Linked DNA regions of Homo sapiens: all the other regions are linked to region 1. Evidence: promoter capture Hi-C in 16 types of primary human blood cells and fetal thymus (Javierre and others, 2016). All regions are on one chromosome and are shown on one strand. Each heading gives the region's core, a stretch centred on a gene start or on the middle of the fragment in contact. The rest is flanking DNA. Distances are from core to core; before and after follow the strand shown. Region 1 holds the start of LCORL (ligand dependent nuclear receptor corepressor like). Region 2 has its middle 5.8 kb from the start of MIR5091. Region 3 overlaps CPEB2-DT (CPEB2 divergent transcript).

Region 1 (4,325 bases), core at 574-3,073:
CCCCCTCCTCCTGCCACCCAGAGATGAACATGTAGATAATCAGGAAATAGTTTTTTGTTGTTGTTTTAAGCCACTAAGATTCTTGGATCATTTATTACTGCACCATAATTTTTCCCATCCTAACTAATGTAGATTACTATAAAAGTGATCAGGAAAACTGCAAAGGCTGATCATCGTGGCAATTGTGAGTGGAAGTGGTTAACTAAAACCATCCACTGACAATTCCAAAATCACCTTCACTAGTGATTTCACCTGCACTCCAATTGTGACCGTTCTAGAAAAGGTGATTATGCGTTCAAACTTTATTATTTTTAACTTATGAAGATGCAAAATTACATCTTCACTACTGAAGTCATAATGAGCAAAGAAATACTTTCTCATAGGAAGAAAAAGAAGGTGGATAAGGATAAGCCACAAAACAGGGAAGGTGGTACTGAATTCAGAGTTTATGAGATTTCCAAGAAGAATTAAACATATTTCCCACAGACTTGTGAATAAATTTCCAGAAATACACAGTACTTCTTAGCAAACGTTGGGTAGCTTAGCTTCGGCTTGATAAACTGCACTTATACGGAAACAAACGCACAATCGCTCTGGTGCAAAAGTAAAAACTGTGATTGGAGTCTGTATTTAAACGTAAGATTCCTCTCTAGCTCTCTCTGAAGAAGTTATTTTCTCTAGCACGTGGTAGAATTCATTCCATTAACCTTTGTAAAGTGCTTAATCCCGTGTCACGCACTGTACTAGGGTCTAGCGAGTGACAGATGTCACGGTACAGAGATCTCAGTGGGTCGCTGCCCTCCAGGAGCTTATAAAGAAAATTTTCCTTCTGCAGTTTTCAGCCGGCTACACCCAGTCCCCTGCAAGTAATTTTCAGTGAAAAAAACCCGCATCTTTTTCCTAGTCCTTGCAAATATTCTGGCTTTCCGAGATCTCTTCGCCTTGAATACCGAAGTCACTCCGGGATCTCTCTCTGGACGTTTGGCAGTTATTCCAGATGTAGCCGAATGACCGGCTTGCCCTTTCCCTGCGGAGTGACAGGAAGACAGCGACCCCGGAAAGTTTCCAGCACTTAAAACGCAAAGCGCAGCCTGAACCCACAAGGAGCCGACAACTCTTGCGGCTTCCACCACCCTTCTATCGCGGAGCCTAAGGAAGCTAAAGCAGTCGGGTCAGACCCGGCCACCGGGCAGCGCATGGTTCCGGGCGCAGGGAGCGACAGACTCAGCCCCCCAGCGGCGCGGCGCAGAGAAGTTGCAGGCCAGCCTGCATACCCAAGTGCGGGGGGGAAGAAAAACAAACAAACAAAAAAAATCCTTTCTTCTGGACTACAATGACCGGCAAGCAACGCGCCACGGCGCCAAGTTCAGCTTCGGGATCCTGGCGAAATGGAGCCTGGGAAGTGAAGTCTCCGGACTGTCGGAGTCCCGTAGTGAAGGCAGAAAGTAGGCGTTGCTAGTCCGCTCCACTAGCACGCCGGTTCCTGGCTGGGCTCCGGGTCTCTCGCTCCCGCTCAGGGTTTTCGCGGGCGGCGGGAGCGGTATGGCTCGCCTGAGTAAACTCCAGCGGGAGGGGGAGGAGGGTAGTGGGTGGGGAGGCGGGGTCAGCGGAAGCGGCAGGTTGCTTCCTTCTCCTCTGGCTCCCTCCCCGCCTCTCCCTGAGGGAGCGGTGGGAGGGGGAGGGCAGGGCAGAGGGAAGGTAGTGACACGTGTCAATCAACCCCCCTCCGGGGGGCGCGCGCTCCGGGGCTCGCGCCGAGGGCTCGCGCCCCTGCCTCGTGCCTGCGCTGCTCGTATGTAAATGAGGGCGCGTGACGCGGGACGCAGATGGACAAGGGAAGAGAGAGAATGGCCGCTGCCGCCGCCGCTGCTGCCGCCGCCGCCGCCGCCGCTCAGTGCCGGAGCCCTCGGTGCGCGGCGGAGAGAAGAGGATTCCGGCGGGAACTCGACTCTTGGCGCCACCGCCTCATGCACTGTGTAGGTAAGAGAGACGCGGGCCGGGGCCCCGGGCTCCGCGCGGCGACCGCTGTCGCAGCCCGAGGAGTTTGTGGCTGAGGGGTTTAGTTGAATCTCCCGTTCGGGTTAGTTCGGTGGGGGAGCGAGATGGGAGCGGCGCGGCGCGGCGGCCCCGGCGCTCGCCTTTTGTCTTGCGGGCTGCTGGCCCGGCGCGGTCCGCGCTCCTTCGCCTTCCCAGCTCTTGGGCTCCCCGGGAACTGTTAGTTTGGACCCGCTTGCTGAGCCCCCGCGGAAGCCGCCCGCTCGCTCTCTCCCCGAAACTCCTCGGCGCCCGTCGCTGCCCGCCGTCGCCCGCCGTCCACCCTGACAGGACGGAGGAAGCGGCCCGGTGGGTCGGCGCCCTGGCGGAGGAGAGCCGGCGGGCAGGGCGGCCGGAGGAAGGCGGGCTGGTCCGCGCCCCCGCCGAGCGCACACACACCCCCTTGTCGCCGCCGGGGGCCGGGTGAGCAGACGCGGCCAGTTCCCGGGGACCTGGACCTGGAGACCCACGGGCACTCGCAGGGCGGGGGCCGCTGATGGGCCGGCTGGGGGCGAGGGGCGGCGGGGGCGTCGTCCGAGGGGCGGGGGGCGCCCAACTCTGCCCTCTCGCGCTCGGCGGCGGCGCTGTGTGTACCCCTTTAAGAAGGAGCCGCTTGAGCGCTGACGGTTGGGATTTGAAGTTCTTCCTCCCTCTTTGGAAGTCTGGACGGATGGGGGGTGTTGCCACGGCAACGACACCCTCCCCCCCGTCTGCTTGCGGACGCCCCGACGACTCTGGTCCTCTTTCACTGTCATGTGATGGACTCTTCCTTACACACACACACACATATACACGCATACGCATCGCCCTCCCCACCTCCCATCCCCATTCAACTGCAATTCCCTCTTTTTGGTTGGATCTGAATCGTTTTGCCTCAAACTTCTGGGCTTGGGGCTCTCACCCTGTGGATTGTTTAGGGTGACAGGAATGGTGGGACTCCCGACCTTGCTGCAGTCGCTTTTTTTTTTTTCTTTTTTTGCCTAAGACGAATGCATAGAGCTGTTATCCAGCAGGTTGGTTTAGTGGGCTTAGAGGGGCGAACACGGATTATGGAATGGGGCGCGTTGTGGGTGTTTGTTTTGGAAGGGGGTTATGGGTGGGAGTGTAGGGGAAGAGGTAGAAAGGAAGGTTGTATTGTGTAAGCAGTGGATAGTGGCAGCAGCTTGCTCTACTGGCGAGTGAATCTTGGCATTTGGAGTTGGGGAGTAACCCTAGTGTCTTAAGAAAACAACTCTCTTACCTTGTTTCCATCTGCTCTGGCACCACCTCGCACCCCCGACCCCGCCTCCCATGTATTTGGTTAACGTCTTAAGATCTTTTTTTGACTAGTAGAGAAGAGATCGTATTAGGTTAAACTTAATACAATTTCAGTTCAGAAATGTGTACCGCAGAACGCGATGAATATAGGAAAATGTATGAGAAAGGAAGGTTACTTTAGGGGGCATTTAAGTGATGTTTAAGTAATTTACTGCTTTTGTTTTGCCCTTACGAAAAATGTATTTTGGTCTTCTCTAAGGAAAGATGATGAGAAATAGCTTTAGTCAAGTATTCGTAAGTGATTTTAGTTTATGAAGTGTAAAAAAAAACCTCTAGGTATTCTTTATATAAATTGTTTAAAAAACTAAATATTGTTGTTTGTGCTTCTTGAATACAAAATGGGCTGTTTTTGATAATTGCTTATGTAAAGATCTCTTCTGGAAACCAATTTAGAAATTACTGAGCTCATTTAGGTAGAATTAGGTAGGATGACAGCATTGCAACACTGGCTTATGATATTACTGTTAAGTTTTGTCAAGGCACAAAGTGATTTGAGGATGTCTTTTTATGTTTTGGAATATTTTGGTTGGTTTTTTTTTCTGGTCTTCTTGCTTATTTAGATACATTAAGTATAGCTTTGCATCATAAAAATAGATAGACTTGAAAAATAGTCAAACTTTAAATGAAACACAATTCATTGGATTTGATGGAAAAGGGGACTAGAATATCTTTTTGCCTTACCTACTTGTATATTCAAGTAAAATTGGAAGACATTGAAAGTTACTACTGTATTACACTTTTATTGCAATATGTGATTACATTGTATCGTATGTGAAAAGAAATTTTGTCCCTGGCTTCTAACTATATTTGAGAATTGTTTCCCACAGTCTCCATCCTAATTAAGCCCTATTAAAACCTGTCTCATATTCTTTGTTATTTATTTATTTATTGAGATGGAGTCTTACTGTCGCCCAGGCTGGAGTGTAGCGGTGCTATCTCAGCTCACTGCAACCTCCGCCTCCTGGATTCAAGCG
Region 2 (4,325 bases), core at 495-2,994, 4.4 Mb after region 1:
ATGGCCAATAAAATTAGATGTTAGGTAAGCTGGTCACCCTGACTGGACCCCCACAGCAACACTTCAATTTGTTGACCATAGTGTGGGGTCCAGCCTGCAGTCTTGCAAGGTAAGAGGTGACTATCAGTACAAAAAGAATAGATCTGAATCCTGGGTGGTTTCAAAATTCGCCAAGCTCTTAGGGTTTTATGCATAAAAATCATTCATGGGGAGAGATATAACTACCAAGTAGACAGCTTCCTATATTTACTACTCAGCACTTTTTCTTCCTATAGGCAAATCCAAATGTGAAGCCAAATGTGATCCAAAAGTTACTTAACAATCACAGAATCAGAGGAGAAATGAATGAGATCATCTTAATGGCTGGCACCCAATAGCAAATGCATGCTCTCCAGAGACAGTGCCAATTCTAGACACTTTGAATTCCTTCCTTTCATACATGCATGCCAACCACCTCTTACTCTTAAAACACAAAACAAAACAAAAAAAAAAACAACTCTTTCTTCAAATGTAGAATACAATCTTTATTTAGGTATACAAATTTTTATTTATATTTAAATAAATCCCTCCCAGAATTTCTACCCAGATGACCTGGATTAGATTTGAGGTATTCAGATAATACTACATCATTTCTAGAGACCTCCCTCCAATTTCTGCTTTTCCTAATTTTATTCCTGGAGGTGTGACTTTCAGTTTTCAGAATACCATGTACCATCTAGAATACTCAGGAAACACACACACACACAGACACACACATGTTAGGGCTATTTTTAAAATAAGAACAATTTTCACAAAGCCTAAATGGAAAATGCTAAATGCAAAGCTTCTTTCCATCTTTATAAGCATATAAAAGATACCTTGCATTTCAAGCCATCTGCAATATTGACATCTCAATTTTCAAAATAGCCAGCAATTCAGTAGCATTAATAGGCACAGGCTACCTAACTTCATAATAAATCTTACTTTTATAAATCTGATTGCTATCACTACCAGGAGTTTAAACCTTATGAGCAAAGAAATGTATAAAAATTAATGGTACTTGCATAAAAGGAGTATCATCTTACAAAAAAAAATGTTCAAACTAGAAAGTACGGTTTCAGTAAAACTTTGTTTATAAAAACAGGTAGACTGGATTAGGCCTGTGGGCCGTGATTTGTCTAGTCCAGTGTTTCTCATATAGTGTTCTATCAGCATTTGTTAAATGCATTTGTTAACAATGGAAACTCTCAGGCTCTGTCCCAGACCTATCAAATCAGGGACTCAGGATGGCGTGCCTAGTACTCTATTTTAACAAGTCCTCTAGGAGATTTTGGTGTAGGCTAAAATTTGAGAACCACTATTAGTCTTCCAGATTACCCACAGAGGAATCTCCCATCCCATAAAGTATTAATAACTAATGTGACTGATAGGTCCAACTTCACCAAATACCCCCCACCACTCTATTTCCCTCCTCTTCTGAAGTTCCTACTCCAATATCCCAGGGGCTTATGTATCCCAATCCTCGTCTCAGTTGACATTACTCCTGTCTTGCTGCCCCAGACACATCCTCCTTTTTCCCACCAACTAGAACTTGGCCACTCTCTTGAATTCTGCAGCTCCTCAAGGTAATATATTCTCACAAAGCCACCATTTCCAAAGCACCCCTACCCTACAACACTCCCAGACTGGCAGGGAGCTGAAGTTTCCAGTCTATGCCAAATGTCCCAGAATCACCCTTCGTCCTCTCTGCCTTACTGTCCCCCTGTACCACTCCACTTCCATGCCCTGACCCTAGGGCAAGTGACAATTCTTTCAAGGGAAAAATCAGTACCCGCTTTTCACATTAACATTGTATAACACTCTGCAGCCCCACCATCATGGTAGTCCTGCCTTATTTGAGGTTTTGCTTTCTGCAGTTTCAGTTACTCATGGTCAACTGTGGTCTGAAAATATTAAATGGAAAATTCCAGAAACAATGAATACATTTTAAGTGTTGCACCATTCTGACAAACATGCTGAAATCTTGCACCATACCATGCCATCCCTTTGTCCAGCATATCCACTCTGTGTATGTTAGCTGCCTGTTAAGTCACTTAGCAGCCATCTTGGTTATCAGATCAGAAAAAAATATAATATACACAGTATAGACTTTTGGGGTTTTTGTTGTTGTTTTTGTTTTTGAGATGGAGTCTGACTCTATCACCCAGGCTGGAGTGCAGTGGCACGATCTCAGCTCACTGCAACCGCCGGCTTCCGGATTCAAGCAATTCTCCTGCCTTAGCCTCCCAAGTAGCTGGGATTATAGGCACGTGACACCATACCCGGTTAACTTTGTATTTTTAGTAGAGATGGAGTTTCACCATGTTGCCCAGGCTGGTCTTGAACTCCTGCCTTCAGGTGATCCACCTGCCTCACCCTCCCAAAGTGCTGGGATTACAGGTGTGAGCCACTGAGCCCAGCCCATGGTATAGTTTGTTCCTCCATGGTTTCAAGCATCCTCTAGGGGTCTTGGAACATATCCCCCATGGATAACAGGGCACTACTATACTGCAACAAAAATAGAATATGTGTGACCATGCAGCTTGCATTGGAAAGACAAATAATATTAACACATGTCCTCTCCCCCTCCTCCGATGTTTTCCGTTATCACTGAAAAACGAACTTTCAAAGTTTCTACTAAGCTTTGGGTTGATGGAGATTTAGGAAATATTGATTTCCCTTTGATTATGAAAAGCCTAGTCGGGAATGGAGATGCCAAAGAGTGGGGATCCCATGGGGGTACAAGGGGAAGAAAATAAGGAAACAACTCTGACGAATAATCAGATGGGATCCCTGGTGTTAGGAGATCAATGTTTGACTTTCACTGGACAAGCTCACAGAAGCAGTCTGGAGGATTGGGTAGGGGTGGGGGACAGGCTGGACTGTAGAAAGGAAAAGAAATTCCTGACAAAAACCATTTGTCAGGAATCTGGTGCCTAACCATGCACATGGCTACCAGTAACAGGGGCCATCATCACCTATTGTTGCTTCCCTAATTCGCAAACTATAAACTCTGTCACCTTGACATCAGACTTGGGGAACAGAATGAGAGTCAATCCTGTTAAGGGAGAAAGTACCTGACCTTTGTTGGAATGTTCTGAACTCAGACAGGCATAGAGTAGGAGAATGATGGCAGTTTCTTTTGTGAAGATCTCACCTCTTCTATGCCCTAACTACTGCTAGAAATTATATACTCTTTTCCTTTCAGCCGGAACCGCTGTCTTCCAGTAATTCGCCAAAATGACGAACACAAAGGGAAAGAGGAGAGGCACCCGACAGATGTCCTCTAGGCCTTTTAGAAAACATGGAGTTGTTCCTTTGGCCATGTATATATGAATCTATAAGAAAGGTGAGGCCAGGCTTGGTGGCTCACACCTGTAATTCTAGCACTTTGGGAGGCCGAGGTGGGCGGATTGCCTGGGCTCACAAGTTCAAAACCAGCATGGGCAACACAGTGAAACCCCATCTTGACTAAAAATACAAAAAATTAGCCAGGCATGGCAGGGCATGCCTGTAGTCCCAGCTACTCAGGAGGCTGAGGCAGGAGAATTGCTTGAACCCAGGAGGCGGAAGTTGCAGTGAGCCAAGATAGCGCCACGGCACTATGGCCTGGACGACAGAGTGAGACTCTCTCTCCTGTCTCAAAAAAAAAAAAAGGTGATATTGTAGACATCAAGAGAATGGCTACTGTTCAAAAAGGAATGCCCCACAAGTGTTACCATGGCACAACTAGAAGAGTCTACAATGTTACCCAGCACGCTGCTGGCATTGTTGTATACCAACAAGGGCCTGATTCTTGCCAAGAGAATTAATGTGCGTATCGAGCACATTAAGCTCACTAAGAGCCGAGATAGCTTCCTGAAACACATGAAGGAAAATGACCAGAAAAAGAAAACAAAGAGAAAGGTACCTGGGTTCAACTGAAGTGCCAGCCTGCTCCACCCAGGGAAGCACAGTTTGTGAGAACCAATGGGAAGGAGACTGAGCTGCTGGAATCTATTCCCTATGAATTCATGGCAAAATAAGTGTTAAAAAAATAAAAGACCTCTGGACTGCAAAAATGTTTCTCTTCGGCTGGGCGAGGTGGCTCATGCCTGTAATCCCAGCACTTTGGGAGGCCCAGGCAGGCAGATCATGAGGTCAGGAGATCGAGACCATCCTGGCTAACACAGTGAAGCCCCGTCTCTACTAAAACTACAAAAAAAATTAGCCGGGCATGGTGGCGGGCACTTGTAGTCCCAGCTACTCAGGAGGCTGAGGCAGGAGAATGGTGTGAACCTGGGAGGCAGAGCTTGCAGTGAGCCAAG
Region 3 (4,325 bases), core at 626-3,125, 3.0 Mb after region 1:
ATTTACCAAGCACAGGCAGAGTAGACTTAGCATGATTCTTAAGGGCCCTAGGATTTTCAGAATGATTAATGAGCATTGGCTTCAAGTTAAGGTCACCAGCTACATTAGCCCTTAAGAAAAGAGTCTGTCTTTTGAAGCTTGAAGCTAGGCATTGACTTTTCCAGCTATGAAAGTCCTAGATGATACCTTCTTCCAATAGAAGGCTGTTTTTTCTACGTGAAAACTTATTTAGTGTAGCCACCTTCATCAGTTATCTTAGCTAGATTTCTAGATAACTTGCTGCAGCTTCTCCATAAGCACTTTCTGCTTTACCTTGCACTTTTATGTTACGAAGACAGCTTCTTTCCTTAAACACGAACCGACCTCTGCGAGCTTTGAACTTTTTTCTTCTGCAGCTTCCTCACCTCTCTCAGCCTTCACAGAATTGAAGAGAGTTAGGGCCTTGCTCTGGAGTAGGCTTCAGCTTAAGGGAATGTTGTGGCTGGTTTAATTTTCTCTATCCAGACCATTCACACTTTTTCTATATCAGCAATAAAGCTGTTTCACTTTCTTATCACTCGTGTTCACTGGAATAGTACTTTTAATTTCCTTCAAGAACTTTTCCTTTGCATTCAGAACTTGACTAACTACTTGGTGCAAGAGGCCTAGCTTTCAACCTATTTCAGCTTTCCACATACCTTCCTCACTAAGCCTAATTATTTCTAGCTTTTCATTTAAAGTGAGAGACATGTACCTCTTCCTTTCACTTGAATACTTAGAGGTCGTTAGAGTGTTATTAATTGGCCTAATTTCAATATTGTTTTGTCTCAGGGAATAGGGAAGCCCAAAGCCTTTATTGATTAAATTATTGTCTTATATGGTTGTGGTTTGTGATGTCCCAAAACAGTTACACTAGTAACATTAAATATTATGATCACAGATCCCCAAAATAGATATAATAATAATGACAAAGCTTTAAGTAACGCAAGAATTACCAAAATGTAACACAGAGATACAAATTGAGCCATGCTGTTGGGAAAATTGTGCTGATAGACTTGCTTGATGCAGGGTTGCCACCAACCTTCAATTTGTGAAAAACCCATTATCTGAGAAGCACAATATAGCAGAGCACAATAAAGCGAGGAGTGCCTATATATCCAGAATCCAAGCACTTCACCCCATTCTCACCACAAGCAGCCTGGACCAGGCTACATCGTTGCTCTCACCTACTAACTCGTATTCCAGCTTCTGATCTTGCCCCTCTCCAGTCTGTTCCCAACATAGCAGCCAGGATGATACTTCTGAAGTGGAAGACAGGTCATGTCAACTCCTCTGACTAAATACTTACATTTTCTCAGAATAGAAGTCAAAACATTTTAATAACCAAAAGGTTCTTCAGAATCGCTCCTGCCACCACTAACCCCTCTGAAAGCTTCCCTACAGTGGAATGCTTATTTCTGTAACAGCCCAGGCCAATTCAGCCTTAGGGCCTTTGCCCTCGCAATTCCCACACCTGGAATACTTGTCTCCTAAGTAGCAACAGGGCTCACTTAATCATGTTTTTATCATTTTTTTTCATGTCTCTCTCACGTCTCTGCTAAAAGTCATTTTTCAGTGATGTCTTCCCTGACCACCATTGTAATAAAATGACAACCCCCCGCCGCCACTCTTTCCCAGCCTTCTTATTCCTCATAAGGTGTTTGTGTTTCCATCTGACCCACTATGTACTTGAACTGTTTATCTGTCCTCTCTCTGAGATCACAAGCCCATGAGGAAAGGTCCATGCCTGTTTTGCTCACTGTTGTATCCTCAGCACTTACAACGATGCCTTGCACATAGTAGGCTTTCAAGAGTTGGGAATTGCATGCACTTATTAAAGGGGTTGTTGAATTAATAAATAGCAATTTTAGGAAATGATAGCTAAAAGAATACAATAGTAATACAAGGGTCTGTTTATAAATGGTTAATTTGTTTTCAGGAGCTGTCCAAACACCATGCAGATGCTCCTAGGATTCTTAAACTAGCCAAAAATAATTCCAGGCATTGTCAGATATAGGATAAGTACATGAAGACAGGTAAGTCATCCCAAGACTATAACGCTGGGGAATAGATAACCCTGGAGTACAAGGGGGAAAACTTCTGTCTCAGGAGACTAGAGTTGGGACTCCAGGAACACAGGGGTTCATTACAGGAGCTTGAACAAAGAGAGGAGTCAAGACCCCATCTCATAGAAATGGAACCAGTTCAGGAGGCACTGCAGTTAAGGTCAACTGGATGCCTTACTTCCATGCTGCTGGTTTCTTTCTGTGGCAGAGCCCATGCCCATAAATGTAATTAACCCCACAGAATGGGAAAGCTTTGAGTCTTTAGATGGGAGCTAATTAGCTCTGGTTTGGAGTTGGAAAAGGAGAAAGTAGAAATTAAGATTCATTCTGACCTTGACCAACTTCAAGGTGCTTTATTGATGTGGCACTCAAGAGTAGTACCATCCTCAATTACTTCTAGTTCTCCTACTTTTCTAAACCTTCCTTCATAATTTCCTCCTTCACTTTCTCCTTACATATTCTTTACGTGTGAGAGTTCCTTAGGCTTATGTTTCTGGTCCTTTTCTATATTTCTACCTACTTTTTCTAGATGAATTTATTATCATGTTTTCAAACATCATCTAAATGCTAATGTCTTCCAAATCCATCTCTTTAGCCTCATGGTCAAAATCATATTTCCAACTGCCTGTTTAACAGTTTGACCTGGGTGTCCTTCAGCCACATCAATTCAATGTGTCTATACCTGCATTCAACATCTTCCCCAAAATCTGCTTCTCCTATTTTGCTTCTTGTCTTGGCTGACGTCATCATCACACAACCAGTTTCTCAAGCTGAAACATGAGTCATCCTCTTCCTTCATCTCTCTCACCCTCCAAAAACAATTGTCAACCATGCTCTGTCAATTATACTGCAGAAACGTTACTCAAATGTAATTCCTTCATGTATCTCCGCATTCCCTTGCCTTTCACATTCCTGGAACACAAGTGCCCAATAAGTATTTGTTGATTAGTAATTGCCCAATGAATGCTGTAAGAAGAAAAGATGAAGAAAAGGAGAAAACAAGGTAAGGAAAGGAAGGAGGGAGATGGAAGGAAGGAAAGAGGTAGATGTTTCCAAAGCATGCTTTACAAAGACATGAGCCATTTTGTGGATAACTGTAGCATTGTTACCTTATGTTTACTGGAGAAAAAATAAAATGAATAATCATAATAACAATGACAAAAAAGTTATTTTCCTTCCCAATATTTTTTCCTTGACAATACCAAACTAAAAGTTTCACTCTGGTTATTACGATCTCTATTCTGGTTATTATGCCATACAAAGATGAACTCATTGACAAAGAAAAATATCAAGAATCTTCCCCTGATGACAAAGTGTAGCCCCGAAACATAATAGAAGGTCTGTGTTACCCTTTGTGGCATCCAGGGGATTTATCATCCCACTCCAATACCCCCACCTAGGAGAGAACCTGTCAGCCTCTCCAGTAATTTCTGCCACGATGCTCACTGGGCCCTTACGTAGACTGACTGACTTCTCTATTGCTACTTATCTTGTATCTTTAAGGCCATGTGAACTCGATTGAATTACAAGTCTTTGTAGGCAGTTGCTATGCCTTATATGTTCTTTAATTTTCCTAGTTCTTATTGATTGATTTATGTATTCAGAAACTCTCTGTTGAGTGCCTGCTCTGTACCAGACACTGTGCAAGGCACTATGGGTATAACTGTGAAAAGAACAGAAAATATATCCATTATTCTGTACATCCTCACAGAGGCTGTAAATAAATACTGTTGACATTAGTTATGATAATTCCCAACCCTAATTATCTGGGCAGAGTCATAAACAGTGAGACTGTAGGCTGAAACTGACCTACTAAATTGGAATCCTACTTGCTGCAATATGACCTTGCCGGGCTGGTCATCGGTGGAGCCTTGTGATCTATACAGAATATTGAGGTAAGGCAAATCTAGCAAGAAGGCAGAAAAAATTACACACTGAAGCTCATCTCAATCCTGGCTTGAAATGGGACTTCTATTATTTCCTTTTCTTGTCACAATATACTTTGTGAGTAGATAAAGCGAATAATATTTTTGTTTTGTTGTTGGAAAACCAAAGCCCAGAGGTAAAGTCGTTTGCTTGAGATGGTTTGCATAGACTGAGATTAATGCCCCCATCTCCTCATTTCTCAGTCTCTTGCTTCATTAGTTGGCCCTCAGGCTAGTGCTAGAAGCAAAGACAAAGAGTGGGCCACTGCTCAGCAAGTACCTGAGTAAAACAGGGTCACAGGGACACACGCTTAAA

What was found. Contacts are between HindIII fragments. The CHiCAGO score rates a contact against its expected background, and 5 or more counts as called.
Region 2: a fragment that was not itself captured here is called in contact with the fragment with the promoter of LCORL in region 1 in 1 of 17 cell types (non-activated CD4 T cells); the score reaches 8.4 in non-activated CD4 T cells.
Region 3: a contact is called between a fragment that was not itself captured here and the fragment with the promoter of LCORL in region 1, in 3 of 17 cell types (non-activated CD4 T cells, total CD4 T cells and activated CD4 T cells). The highest score is 8.8, in non-activated CD4 T cells.

What each region holds. Positions count from the first base shown.
Region 1 is chr4:18,019,253-18,023,577 of GRCh38, reverse strand. It overlaps LCORL (ligand dependent nuclear receptor corepressor like), which reads left to right and starts at 1,823. Exons shown (of 8, transcript NM_001394446.1): 1 at 1,823-1,980. The coding sequence starts at 1,827. RefSeq lists an enhancer at 1,192-1,451 and silencers at 1,502-1,961, 2,282-2,611. The HindIII fragment of the contact is 12,000 bases long and covers 1-4,325 here.
Region 2 is chr4:13,631,532-13,635,856 of GRCh38, reverse strand. It overlaps the pseudogene LOC100288683. Among named protein-coding and RNA genes, the nearest start is that of MIR5091, 5.8 kb to the right of the region's middle. The HindIII fragment of the contact is 1,837 bases long and covers 826-2,662 here.
Region 3 is chr4:14,992,983-14,997,307 of GRCh38, reverse strand. CPEB2-DT (CPEB2 divergent transcript) reads left to right here. Exons shown (of 8, transcript NR_038857.1): 4 at 1,958-2,054. Among named protein-coding and RNA genes, the nearest start is that of CPEB2-DT, 6.9 kb to the left of the region's middle. The HindIII fragment of the contact is 924 bases long and covers 1,414-2,337 here.